3 separate regions of the Homo sapiens genome follow, and regions 2 and 3 are each linked to region 1. The links are contacts of gene promoters, found by promoter capture Hi-C in human tissues and cell types (Jung and others, 2019). All regions are on one chromosome and are shown on one strand. Each heading gives the region's core, a stretch centred on a gene start or on the middle of the fragment in contact. The rest is flanking DNA. Distances are from core to core; before and after follow the strand shown. Region 1 holds the start of ID4 (inhibitor of DNA binding 4). Region 2 has its middle 67 kb from the start of TRQ-CTG1-1. Region 3 overlaps MIR548A1HG (MIR548A1 host gene).

Region 1 (4,952 bases), core at 2,396-4,895:
AACTAATAAGCAAAGAGGCCAAAATTGGGGCTTAGGCTGTCTCACTTCAGAGTCCATGCTGTTTATATCTCCTAAGGTAAAAACAAATTCCACTTATTTCTCCCCATTTTTCTGTCTTTTAATCTAAGGGGGGCTTTCAAAAAGTCACTTCTTATTTAAACCAACTACCTTTAAAACTCCCCAAACAAGGCATTTTTGACAGCCACATCTGCCCAGCCATGTTCAACGTACAACGTCCTCTTCCTACAAGCCTTTTCCAGGACCTAGCAAACTAAGGGGTTATCAGCATTTCCGGGACTAGTATCAGCAATCCAAGGGTAGCACAAGTAATTTTGTAACACTTAGTGCCTGATAAAGCAGCCTTGAGCTTGAATTGCCACATTGCCCAACTTACTCTTTGGGAGCAAGGGACAGTCCTGCTGCAGAGTACATAGTGGTTTCTTATGCCCTCAAAGAATGCATGTGCCTCTTTCTGTGACGACAAATCTACAGAGTGACCAAGGCATTGGAACATTCACGTTTATCTGTGTATGAGTACACTCACTGTTTCCCTGGAGGCTATGGAGAAACAAGTATCAAGTCCTAAAAAGGCACTGGGAATGAAGAGCACAATATGCTTCCATACCCTTGCTTCATGTAAACACAGGGTGACTATGACTTCTAAAGGCCTGGGTGTTGCAGTTCAGTGAGGGCCTGATTTAGTAGCTAGAATACATCTCAGGGAGGACAGCAGACCTCTTTGTCTGGAGGAAGGGTGTATCCATGACTCTGGTCATCACGGCTTTCTAGCAATTCTCCTATGAATGTTTCATTCTAGGTTCCTACTGAGGTATATTTTGGGAGTCTCGAGCATTTCCATGACAAAAGGATTTGGGTTAGCCCATTTTACTTTTACAAGTGCAAGTGAAACACTTTGATGTAAAAGAGTCACCAACAGACTAAGTTACCTTCTCTGCACAGTAGAAATAACATAGCTTGTAAGGTTTATCCAAAATCTGAGTGATAATTGGGTAAACTGTTTTGAATTATCAGTGCCAGGAATCTTCCATGATTGCAGCTTTGATGTCATGTAAGTGTCTATGTCTAAGAATACAAAAACATACATTGCATAGCCCCTAGTACTCTCTGGTTTCATGGACCAAAACGTGCAGGATTGTATTCCTTATTCCCATAGTATATGGTAGCACTTTAATTTTTTAATGTCTTCATGCCTTCCAACCTTCAAAACAAGGAGCACAGTAACTGCCTCTGCCTACTCTGCTAGCAGGATTTACGGATCACATCTTTCCTGGGTATTCTTGATCTTGTGGCTGAGGTACATTCCTTTGAAACCACCTCTTCCACCCCACCCCACACAGAGTAACTCAGTCTTTCTAACTTTAAGCCAGTCACACAGAGCATCTCCAACAAAACCTGAAACTTAGGCATTTGGCGCTTGTCACACCCAAGGCATGGCTTTCTGAGATTTAGCAAATTCCAAAAAGGTCGATATGATTCTTCCTTTGTGTTACGTATTCAAAACTTAAATTTTAATTTTAATCGTTAGGATATGTAAAATGTTTAAATGTAAGTGTGTCCTGGGCATATTAGCATAGTTTTATTTTGCCAAACAGAGGAAAGTCTTGGGTTTTGAATTTGGAAGCAAATTTTAAACTCTAGGAAAGAGAAAGATCAATGGAACAAAACATCTGTACATATATCCATTTATTATTATCGTCTGTGCTCATATGACTGGCTCCAAGATAATAGCTTACAACCAGTAGTGCTGGCTTCACCGACTTCCCATTTAAAATTACAACATTTTCTCTGTATTTGCATTAATTTAATGATGTATATGACTATGCCTGTCTTTAGAAGAAAGCCCTTCTGAGTTTCATAATTCTGATTTTCTCGATTAATGTGTATGTAGACCATCTACGTATGCACATAAATAAATGAGAATGGCACTTGTTTCCAAACAATTATTAGAAGCAGTAACATACAAGGATTAGGGGAGAGGAGGGTTATTGCATCTACCTGTGAAACCAGAATTAAATAGTTGCTCCTCATTTCATCAGGAGAAAGGAATGTGCTCTGGGGAATAGTGCGATAGTCATAAAGCACTGACATAGCTAAACAAAATATCTGCCTGGTGCAGGTATTTCAGTTCTGGGAATGGATGTAGAAAAAGTCCATATAGGGGTAGACAGGAAGAAATGAGGTCCATGTCTCTTTCTTTCAATTATCTATGAAAATGAAGACACCAATCCATGTCATGTACACGAATGAAGAAAATTCTTGGGTTAATTCATCTCCAAGCGTGTCTAAAGGTGGGAGGGTTTGTAGAGTGAAGGCACTCAAAATTCATTTCCCCATTGTCTGAGAATTTTTATGCACCTTTCTCATCTGAAGGGCTCAATTTTTTCTTGAAGGGTACACACAATGCTCCACCAAAGCTCATTGTGCAATTTTATTTTGAACCCTTGAAGGACAGCTTTTCTCTAAGAAATCTAACACAAAAACGCCCTTAATTAACAGGCTTTTTTTTGCAGGGTGGGGCCCAAGCGGGATCCCAGAGACTGGAAGTGTGAATTTTAATGCTTTGCTGTCAAAGGAGGCGACTCTGGACATTCTCATCACCTTATTTAAAGCGGGGTACGCTGACTAATACGTGAAGCTGTGCATTAATGGCCTAAATTAAGTTACAGGTATGAATTTTACATAAAACAGATTAATATTATATGTCATAATGGAATTTTAAATATTCCGTGTCCATGCATTTTTAATCTTTACGTGCTCTAATTGAATGCGCAAGGCAACTGCATTTCTTGAGCCCACTTTTGCATTTAGATGGGGTAAAAGAACCCCCCCCACGTTTTTGTTTTATTTATATTCCCTTCACCAAAAACCTGCATTCGATTCGGCATTCTTTTCCTTCTTTTTTTTTCTACTTTTGCTAAGCTTTAGCATTTTTTAAAAAGAAAACGGAAAGGCTACACATTCCATTCCATCATTATGGTTTCGGCAAATGTGAAAAGGCGAATAATGAAACGGAGGAGGGAAATATAGAACAGAATGAACGTGCCTTCTTGAACAGCGCGTCTTTCTTAAGGCACTGGAATCCCACGGATGGAGTGATGGGTGGCGGAGGGTCCCTGGGCGCCGTGCTATTAGGAGTGGCAGGGTATCCGCGAGCAGGGCCCAGGCGCTCCCTCAGCAGCCTAGTCGGGATAAGGGGGGCGGTGGAGAGTGAATTCCGGCCGCACATTCCCGCAGTTCTTCGCAGGAACTTCGCTCTCTCTTTTCCCCTCCCTTGGGCACACATCAGCCTGGCCCGACTCCCACTCAGCTCTCTTTTCTCAGAACCCCGACCCACAGCGTTGACGGAATGGAGTGCCCTTCCCATTGGCCCGAGCGTCATTCCCCGAGGTGGCACTGCCCGCCTGATTGGCTGGCCACTCCAGACCCCCCGCCCACTCCTCCACTCGGGTAGCCGGACTCCCCGCCCCCCAGCACCGCCCGGAGCCCCCGCCCTCGCCTCTCCCTCCGCGCCCCCGCCCGCGCGCCCAGCGGGCTCCGCTCGGCTCGCGCTGCGACCCGGCCCGCGCGCTGGTCCCGCCCCCGGGGCGCACGGCTCTATAAATACAGCTGCGCGGCGGGCCGGGCGAGAGCGTAGTGGAGGAGGCGCGGTTGTGAGTAGTACCGGGAGTGGGGTGATCCCGGGCTAGGGGAGCGCGGCGGCCGCGATCGGGCTTAGTCGGAGCTCCGAAGGGAGTGACTAGGACACCCGGGTGGGCTACTTTTCTTCCGGTGCTTTTGCTTTTTTTTTCCTTTGGGCTCGGGCTGAGTGTCGCCCACTGAGCAAAGATTCCCTCGTAAAACCCAGAGCGACCCTCCCGTCAATTGTTGGGCTCGGGAGTGTCGCGGTGCCCCGAGCGCGCCGGGCGCGGAGGCAAAGGGAGCGGAGCCGGCCGCGGACGGGGCCCGGAGCTTGCCTGCCTCCCTCGCTCGCCCCAGCGGGTTCGCTCGCGTAGAGCGCAGGGCGCGCGCGATGAAGGCGGTGAGCCCGGTGCGCCCCTCGGGCCGCAAGGCGCCGTCGGGCTGCGGCGGCGGGGAGCTGGCGCTGCGCTGCCTGGCCGAGCACGGCCACAGCCTGGGTGGCTCCGCAGCCGCGGCGGCGGCGGCGGCGGCAGCGCGCTGTAAGGCGGCCGAGGCGGCGGCCGACGAGCCGGCGCTGTGCCTGCAGTGCGATATGAACGACTGCTATAGCCGCCTGCGGAGGCTGGTGCCCACCATCCCGCCCAACAAGAAAGTCAGCAAAGTGGAGATCCTGCAGCACGTTATCGACTACATCCTGGACCTGCAGCTGGCGCTGGAGACGCACCCGGCCCTGCTGAGGCAGCCACCACCGCCCGCGCCGCCACACCACCCGGCCGGGACCTGTCCAGCCGCGCCGCCGCGGACCCCGCTCACTGCGCTCAACACCGACCCGGTGAGAGGCCGGGCGCCGGCCGTGGGCGGACGCCGCGGGGGATGGGAGGTTGGTGGCGTGGTGGCGGGACGCGGGCGCTCACCGTCCTCCGGGCAGGGGCGGGCCAGGAATGACAGCCCCCTCCCCCTGCTCCTCCGGGCTCCCCCGGGCCGCCAGCAGCCGGCCGGGCTCGGCGAGCGCGGGTCCGGGAGAACGCGCAGGGCGGGACTCGGGGCTGTGGGCGCCCTGGGCTGTCAAGTCCCGCCTGAGCCCGGAGGGGCCCCCCCGGCTACAGGCTGGGGTGGGGGCGTCGGCGCGCCAGCCTGATTTCCGAGGACAATCCAGGACCGTGTCGAGCGCGTTGTTTGCGCCTGCTAACCTTTCCCTTGGTGTTCGGTTGCTGTTCCAGGCCGGCGCGGTGAACAAGCAGGGCGACAGCATTCTGTGCCGCTGAGCCGCGCTGTCCAGGTGAGCGCGCATTTCCCGTCTCGGGTGGCCGGTC
Region 2 (4,461 bases), core at 343-2,842, 1.1 Mb before region 1:
AGGTACCCTCGCAGACTGCATTGTCCAGGACGATGGCTACCGGTACCATGTGGCTTTGAGCACTGGAAACAGGTCTTGTCCAAATCGAGGTATGCTGTGAAAGCAAAAGACATTGGACACTGGATTTCAAAGACTTGATACAAAAAATGTTAAATATTTCATTAACAATTTTTTATTGATTACATGTTGAAATGATAATATTTTAGATATATTGGGTTAAATAAAATATAGTAGCAAAATTAATTTCAATCATTTCTTTAAAAATTTGAACTTGCATATTTGGCTTGCACTATATTTCTATTGAAAAGTGCTTGTCTAGACTATGAGCCCTTTGAAGACAGGGTTAACTCTTGGTCCATGGCTCCCAGTTTGTTCTCATCAATTGTTCTGTTAACCACCTGATGAATGAATGATTATAACATTGATTTTAAAATGTATGCAATTACATGTGCAGTAAGCTTACACCTATGTAAAATATTCATATTATAAAAGACAGAAGGTGATCTACAAAATTGAAGGTGTTGGTTGTCTTAGGATGGTGAGATTATGGGTCACTTTATTATTTTTCAAACTTTCTGTGGAATAATTTTCTTCTCATAATGTAAAGGATTTTTTTTTTTTTTAATGAAACCAGGACTTGTGAGGGTTTTTTGTTCGCTTGTTTATTTGTTTGTTGTGGGGATGGAAGGATACACATATGAATCATCTTCAAAGACTCCTGGCTGTGGCTGATTCCAGTGGTCTCTCTAATGTGGGGGAGGACATACCTTATATAGGGCCTGGAGGGGTGATTCTTGAGTGTTGTAGCACACCATGGCTAACAGCAGCCTGCTGTTGGTGCTGGGCAGAAATCTCTTTGGCCCAGAGCAAGCAATGAAGATTTTATATTCTTCATCTTCTGCAAGGAGCTGCAGTTGTTTCTCAAGGTCAGGTCAGAGAGCATCCTGAGGATGAGGAATAACAGTCCTCGAAGGGCTTTCCATCTTGGCAACGGTTCATACCCATGTAAAGCTGATAACAAAATAATTCCAAAATAAACAAACAGTGGGTGCCTAAGTGCCCTCAGAGATCAGTAAATCTGAGCACATGTAAGCTGCCAGTGTGAGAAGCAGATAAAACCTCCTTCTAACATCCCGATGCACTAAAGCAGATGGAAACACCATATCAGGGTGCCTAGACAAACAAAACAAGACAAAAACTTTCTTTGCCTAGAAAAGCAAACTAGCTCTTACACCAAGGCAGAGCGAAAGTCCTGACCATTTAACAAATTCTAGACTGTGACAAATTTAATTGATTCAACAGAGATTTATTGACACCCTATTTGTGTTCTAGGTATGGTTTTCAAGGCTAGATACAGCAGTAAGCAATGCTTGCAAAATTCCATGCCTTCCCTTTATTTATGTTCTTGAGGGATAAATCAAGTCAATAAACAAATGTGTAATTTAATATATAGCATGTAAGATGACTATAAATACTAAGGAAAAAATAAAGCAGAGAATGAGGGTACAGGACAGTTGTGGAAGAGTAAGCTGCAATTTTAGAGTGGGTGGCTCAATATTTGAGTGAAGAAAACTTGAAGGAGGTGAGGAAATAAAACATGTAGATTTTTGATAGAAAAACATTTCAAGAAAGGAAACAGCAATTGTAGAGCCTTGAAGTAGGAGCTTGCCTGGCATGTTTGAAGAACAACAAAAAATCACTGAGACTTAAGGAAAAGTTGGGTGCAGTGGCTCACGCCAGTAATCCCCAGCACTTTGGGAGGCTGAGGTGGGTGGATCACCTTAGCTCAGGAGCTCAACATCAGCCTGGGCAACCTGGTGAAATCCCCGTCTCTATTAAAAAAATACAAAAATTAGCCAGGTGTGATAGTATGCACTTGCAGTCTCAGCTACTGGGGAGGCTGAGGTGGGAGGATCACTTGAGCCCAGGAGGTGTAGGTTGCATTGAGCTGAGGTTGCACCACCTCACTCTAGCCTGGGCAATGGAGCAAGGCCCTGTCAAAAAAAAAAAAAGGAAAGGAAGGAAGGAAGGAAAGAAGGAAGGAAAGAAGGAAGGAAAAGAAAGAGAGAGAGAAAGAGAGAAGGAAGGAAGGAAAGAGAGAGAGAAAAAAGAAAGAAAGAAGAAAGAAAGAAAGAAAAAAAGGCTGGGCACAGTGGCTCACGCCTGTAATCTCAGCACTTTGGGAGGCCTGGGCGGGTGGATTGCCTGAGCTCAGGAGTTTGCGACCAGACTGAGCAACACGGTGAAACCCTGTCTCTACTAAAATACAAAAAAATTAGCCAGGCATGGCAGCGTGTGCCTGTGGACCCAGCTACTTGGGAGGCGGAGGCAGGAGAATTGCTTGAATCGGGGAGGAGAAGGTTGCAGTGAGCCGAGATCATGCCACTGCACTCCTACCTGGGCGACACAGCAAGACTCCATCTCAAAAAAAAAAAAAAAAAAAAGAAAAAAAAGAAAAGAAAAGAAAGAAAGGGAAAAAAAGGGCAGGTAGGCAAAGGGGAAGTCAGACTTGTGGGGCCTGATTGTGCAGTGTTTTAGGGGATTACCAGGACTTTTGGCTTTTACTGAGTGAAATGGGAAGATTACAGGATTTTGAGCATGAAAATGAGATGATTAACCTACACTTTAAGCATCTGAGTTCAGAATATTAAACTTGAAAATCAGTTTGGAAGTTTTTGCAATAAAAAAGTTACGAAGATCTAATGGCAAATGTAATCAGCGGTTTAGGTTCTGGGTATGACTTAATGGTAGATCTGATTGGCTTTTTTGACTGGCTGGATATAGGGTATGAACAAAGTAGAGGAACTGATGATGATGATGCCAGATACTTTCACCCAACTTAGTGGGAGGATGGATTTTACCATTTACTGGTCATACAAAGTGCTGGCGAGGATGTGGAGGAACTGGAACTCACACGCTTCTCGTGGGAATGTAAAATGGCACAACCACTATGAAAACCACTTTGGTAATTTCTTCTACATTTAAAACATATGTTTACTATATGACCAATCATTTCATGCCTAAATATTTACCAAAGTGAAATGAAAACTTATGTTCACACAAAAACCTGCATGTTAACATTTACAGCCGTATTATATTTAATCACAAAAACGTGGAAACACCCCAAAAGTCCCTCTCCCCAGGGATGAATTAACAAACTGTATTACATCAACACATTGAAATACTGTTAAGCAATAAAAAGGAGCAAATTACTGATTAGCATAAAAACATGGATGGTCAGTGAAAGAAGCCTGATTCAAGAAGGCTTTATGCCGTATAATTCCATTTATATGATATTCTGAAAAAGGCAAGACCATAGAGGTAGAACACGAACCAGTAATTGCCAGAGATGGTGGTGAGAGGGGGAAATTTGACTATAAAGGGGTGAAGGGGAATATTTTAAGGGGGATGGAAGCATTCTATAGCTTGATTGTGGTGATGGTTACAAGTCTGTATGCACCTGTCAAAACTTGCAGATGTATACAACAAAAAGGGCAACTTATATAGTACATAAATTATGGCTTAATTTTTTTTTTTTTTTTTGAGATGGAGTCTCACTCTGTAGCCCAGGCTGGAGTGCAGTGGCTCGATCTCAGCTCACTGGAAGCTCTGCCTCCCAGGTTCATGCCATTCTCCTGCCTCAGCCTCCCAAGTAGCTGGGACTACAGGTGCCCGCCACCACGCCTGGCTAATTTTTTGTATTTTTAGTAGAGATGGGGTTTCACCGTGTTAGCCAGGATGGTCTTGATCTCCTGACCTCGTGATCCACCCGCCTCCACCTCCCAGTGTGCTGGGATTACAGGCGTGAGCCACTGTGCCCGGCTGGCTTAATTTAAAAATAGTAAAAAAGGGAAGTAAAATTATGAGGGATATTTTTAGGTGAGAGAAATAATATCAAGGTGGAGTGTGAATGGGAAAGAAGTGGTAGAATGGGAAAAAGTAATGTTGCAAGAGGAAGAGGAGGGGATTGAGCAGTGACCTGGAACAGGTTAGAAAGGATAGGAGCTCATAAACAGGTGGAGGGGATGGCCTCTGTGGGGACTTGCCAGGGGTAGTTCACCCAGTATAGTGAGACAGAAGGCAGTGGGTATGGGTAGAGAGGATAAAGGCAGAGGTATAATTTTATAGTAGATGCGATAGTGCTGGGGGCTTTCCATTGTTTTCCTTGAACTTTGATTTTTGTAGTGAAGTAGAAAGTGAGCACATCAGCTGAGACTGATGATATAAAAGAAGTGTTGGATGTTTGAAGAGACAGGAGAAGATATGAACTAATTGTTTAGGACAGGGGTCCCCAACCCCTGGGCCATGGGCTGGTACTTGTCTGTGGTCTGTTAGGAACTGGGCAGCATGCAAAACTTCACCTGTATTTATAGCTGCTCCCCGTCACTCACATTACTGCCTGAGCTCTGCCTCCTGTCGGATCAGTGGCGGCATTAGATCTCATAGAAGCGCAAACCCTAT
Region 3 (4,625 bases), core at 794-3,293, 1.2 Mb before region 1:
TTCAGCAAAGTCTCAGGATACAAAATCGATGTGCAAAAATCACAAGCATTCCTTTACACCAGCAATAGACAAACAGAGAGCCAAATCATGAATGAACTCCCATTCACAATCGCTACAAAGAGAATAAAATGTCTAAGAATACAGCTAATAAGAGATGTGAAAGAACTACAAACCACTGCTGAAGGAAATAAGAGAGGACACAAGCAAATGGAAAAACATTTCATCCTCACAGATAGGAAGAATCAATATCATGAAAATGGCCATAGTGCCCTAAGTAATTTATAGATTAAATGCTATTCCCATCAAACTATCATTGACATTTTTCACAGAATTAGAAAAAAACTACTTTAAATTTCATATGGAATCAAAGAAGACCTTGTATAGCCTAGACAATCCTAGGCAAAAATAACAAAACTGGAGGCATCTGACCTCGAACGATACTACAAGGCTACAGTAACCAAAACAGCATGATACTGGTACCAAAACAGACATATAGACGAATGGAACAGAACATAGACCTCAGAAATAACACCACACATCTACAACCATCTGATCTTCAACAAACCTACAAAAACAAGCAATGAGGAAAGGATCTTCTATTCAATAAATGGTTCTGGGAAAACTGGCTAGCCATATGCAGAAAGCTGAAACTAGACCCCTTCCTTACACCTTATACAAAAATTAACTGAGGATGGATTAAAGACTTAAATGTAAAACCCCAAACCATAAAAACCCTAGAAGAAAACCTAGGCAATACCACCAGGACATAGGCATGGGCAAAGACTTCATGATGAAAATGCCAAAAGGAATTGCAACAAAAGCCAAAATGGACAAATGGAATCTAATTAAAATAAAGAGCTTCTTCACAGCAAAAGAAACTATCATCAGCGTGAACAGGCAACCTACAGAACAGGAGAACATTTTTGCAATGTACTCATTTGACAAATGTCTTATATCCAGAATTTGCAAGGAACTTAAATTTACAAGAAGAAAACAACTCCATCAAAAAGTGGGCAAAGGATATGAACAGACACTTCTCAAAAGAAGATATTTATGCAGACAACAAACATTAAAAAATCCCCAACATCATTGATCATTAGAGAAATTCAAATCAAAACCACAATGAGATACCATCTCATGCCAGTCAGCATGGTGATTATTAAGAAGTCAAGAAACAATAGATGCTGGTGAGGCTGTGGAGAAATAGGAATGCTTTTACACTTTGGTGGGAATGTAAATTAGTTCAACCATTGTGGAAGACGGTATGGGGATTCCTCAAGGATCTCGAATCAGAAATACCATTTGACCCAGCAATCCCATTACTGGGTATATACTCAGAGGAATATAAATCATCCTACTATAAAGACACATGCACATGTATGTTTATTGCAGCACTGTTTATAATAGCAAAGTCATGGATGCCCAAATGCCCATCAATGATAGACTGGATAAAGAAAATGTGGTACATATTCACTATAGAATACTACACAGACATAAAAAGGAATGAGATCATGTCCTTTGCAGGGACATGGGTGAAGTTGGAAGCCATCATCCTCAGCAAACTAACAGAGGAACAGAAAACCAAACACTGCATGTTCTCGCTCATAAGTGGGAGTTGAGCAATGAGAACACATGGACACAGGGAGGGGAACATCACACACCAGGGCCTGAGGGTGTTGTGGGGTGGGGGCAGTGGGGAGGGAACTTAGAGGATGAGTCAATAGGTGCAGCAAACCACCACGGCACACGTATACCTATGTAACAAATCTGCACGTTCTGCACATGGATCCTGGAACTTAAAATAAAAAAAAAATAAATACAATAAAAAGTTTTCTTTATTCTTTTCACAAAGCAAAAAATGTTATAGAAGCCTCAATGTCTGAGTCTCTTGCTTGTCATATTGGTCTTGAAGAGACTCTCAATATACTGCCCAATTGCTTTTTTCAATATTAGTGGTTCCAGCACCTTAATTAGGAATTTTGCTTATAGATTTCATGATTCTTAGAAAAGGAACATGTTTTCCAGTTGAGAGGAAATGTGTCTTACAGCTGGTAGCTCAGCTGTACTAGGGAAGGTATTGTTATCTTGCCCAAAGCAAACTTCTAGGGCCATCTTTGTACCTTGGGGATGGGATAGCCAATGACTGGAAGCCAAGAAAGCAGAGGCAGGAGGAGCTACATTCAGCTTTTTCCAACCCTGGAAATCGGTCAACCCAGCCCAAGCATATTGTTGGTGTTTTATTAAAAGGGTTGATTTGGGGAATGTTGTGTTTGCCATGCAATGTCATGCCTCAAAGCCTTGGTTTCCAGCCTTTATTTATATGCTTAATTGTTGCTATGGAAATTCAATATTTAAAGAGGTAATTATTGCTGATCTTGTTGCATGTGTCCATTTCTGATGTCCAGCTGTTAGCTCTTTAGCTCCAGTCTAGCAGATTAATTACTGCTATTGATTACTTTGAGCTTCTCTCTTCACACCTGCAGTCTGTGTAATTAGCTGGTGGCCTCCTCTGAAAATTAGGAGCAGTTTCATTCTGGCACTTTGCCATTTCCCAGCCATGTGCACTGCACTGATGAACAAAAGCAAATCTATTTTAAATAGAGATATCTGGGTAATGAACTCTTTGTGTTTTTGAACTATCCGTGGATAATTCAAATTACCCTCTGTTAGCAAATATTGTACCTCATTTGATGACTATCTGCAAAGAAAAAAATTCCAAAACACTAGTTTTTATTCCCATTTCCACCTTGCAGAAATTTGCTCCTGTGTGTGGTTTAAAAAAATCAAAACAACTTTCTAATTCTGCTGCTGAGGGTATTGGGGTACTGAAATAGGCTTCCTAATGGAGCCCAGTGGAAGCAGCTGAGTTTGCACTCTGAGTATTGCAAACATCCAGGTATTAATGTGCATCCCTTCATTAGATTCACACTCCTAGTTTGAGAGACAAATCGCCATTCTTGGGAGTCACTGATATGCATTGGGAATAAAAAAGTTTCCTATTAAAAATGATTGAGTCAGAGACATGAGAGAGATATTTGATATTCTTCCCAACTTTGTTCCAGTTAATAAGATTTTTTTTTCCTCCCTGCTCACTGGAAACTGAATCTGGAAATGCCAAACATTCAAATCTAGAGTTCTGTGTCTGATGTCCTGTTTCGATACTTCCTCATCTGTCATGTGTTACTGCCTAAACACTCAGGAAATACAAGTTGGTGGTAGAATTGGGAGTGGACTTCCCAAGTAATGGTATGCAATGATTACTAACATGGCCAGCTGTTCCTTTCCATGCTGACAGGGTCCCACTAATGTTCCCTTTAGCTATTTAACTTGTGTTGAGTTATTATCCTAAGGGTTATTGCTTATTGTAGGAAAAAATAAAGTGTTTTCTTCCTGCCCATGGCATGCATCTGCCAGCTTTCATTTGAAGCTTTAAGTGAGTAAGTACGTCCCAAAGCCCACTCAGCGCATGGAAGGAAAAAAGTTCAGAAAGTTACCACTTGTCAGAATGATAAAAGTATCATTCCACTACCACAAGCACAAATGTGTTTAGTTGGATCACAGCAAACTGGGAATGTTCCATCAGCTCCAAGACAGCCTCTACGGAAGCAAAGAAAGATGACCTTCTGAGGTTCCAAGCAATCAGGTGGGCGATGGTATGCAGCAGAAAAGAGTAGAGAGATAAGGGGCACTCACTCGTCAACTCAATGAAGCTTTGGGGCATCTAATCGGGAGGCTGAACACCGGCCCTCAGACCAGAAGGTCCCCAGCTGGAATCTCATCATTTCCACCGCTTCCAGATTAAAATTTAAATTGTGTGCTGCCATTTGGAGGCCTTCTGGGCAGGGTCTCACAGAGTCACCAGTTATTAGGAATGCCTCCTATTATCACAACCCTAAAAGCTATTTGAACAGCAGCCTAATGTGATTGTGATTTCCAAGGACCATTTGCTGTTATTGCAGCTCTGCTCGGATGTGAGTGGGAGCGACTAACCAAAGTTGCCTTCTCATAGTACCAGAGAGGAGAATCAGAGGCACCAGAGAAAGATTTAACTGGCCATAAATGTAAATTCATCCCCAATAAACAATCTTTTGTTCCCCCCATTTAGGCAAGGTCATCTCTCATTCTGGCAAATAGCAATACTCTTTCCCGTACAAGAGTGTAAACTTTAGAAATTCATATTAATTATAATTTCAACTCCACTGGAAATATGAAAATTATGAAAACATAGTTTTAAAGAGGTACTATAGTAAAATACGAAGGGATAGTTTTACATAATATTCCATACTTATGGGTGATAGACAGGGATTTAAACATGTATGTAGTTTCTCTTTGAAGCCAATGCAAAAATTAAACACACTAACCTTATGAATATCTGAGGCTACGCACAGTATATGTGGTATAATGTTAGACATGCCACAGATCTCTGATGTATGGAGTTACTTCAGTCATTGGTTTTTCACCACCAGCAGAAGAAAAATGCAAAATATCTAGTTTAGTTTTTTAAACCTGATGTTTAAAACCAGCTAAGTATTTTTTTTTTTTTTGAGACGGGGTCTCACTCTGTTGCCTGGGGCGGAGTGCACTGGCGCGATCTCGGCTCACTGCAACCTCCGCCTCCTGGTTTC

Evidence for each region. Contacts are between HindIII fragments. The study calls those that stand out against the background at their distance.
Region 2: a contact is called between a fragment that was not itself captured here and the fragment with the promoter of ID4 in region 1, in 1 of the 25 tissues and cell types used here (dorsolateral prefrontal cortex).
Region 3: a contact is called between a fragment that was not itself captured here and the fragment with the promoter of ID4 in region 1, in 1 of the 25 tissues and cell types used here (lymphoblastoid cells).

The regions. Positions count from the first base shown.
Region 1 is chr6:19,833,725-19,838,676 of GRCh38, forward strand. ID4 (inhibitor of DNA binding 4) reads left to right here and starts at 3,646. Exons shown (of 3, transcript NM_001546.4): 1 at 3,646-4,471; 2 at 4,860-4,918. The coding sequence starts at 4,031. The coding sequence ends at 4,904. The HindIII fragment of the contact is 7,095 bases long and covers 1-4,952 here.
Region 2 is chr6:18,766,626-18,771,086 of GRCh38, forward strand. No RefSeq gene overlaps it. Among named protein-coding and RNA genes, the nearest start is that of TRQ-CTG1-1, 67 kb to the right of the region's middle. The HindIII fragment of the contact is 7,845 bases long and covers 1-4,461 here.
Region 3 is chr6:18,660,689-18,665,313 of GRCh38, forward strand. All of the region lies in intron 4 of MIR548A1HG (MIR548A1 host gene), which reads left to right. Among named protein-coding and RNA genes, the nearest start is that of MIR548A1, 91 kb to the left of the region's middle. The HindIII fragment of the contact is 3,049 bases long and covers 520-3,568 here.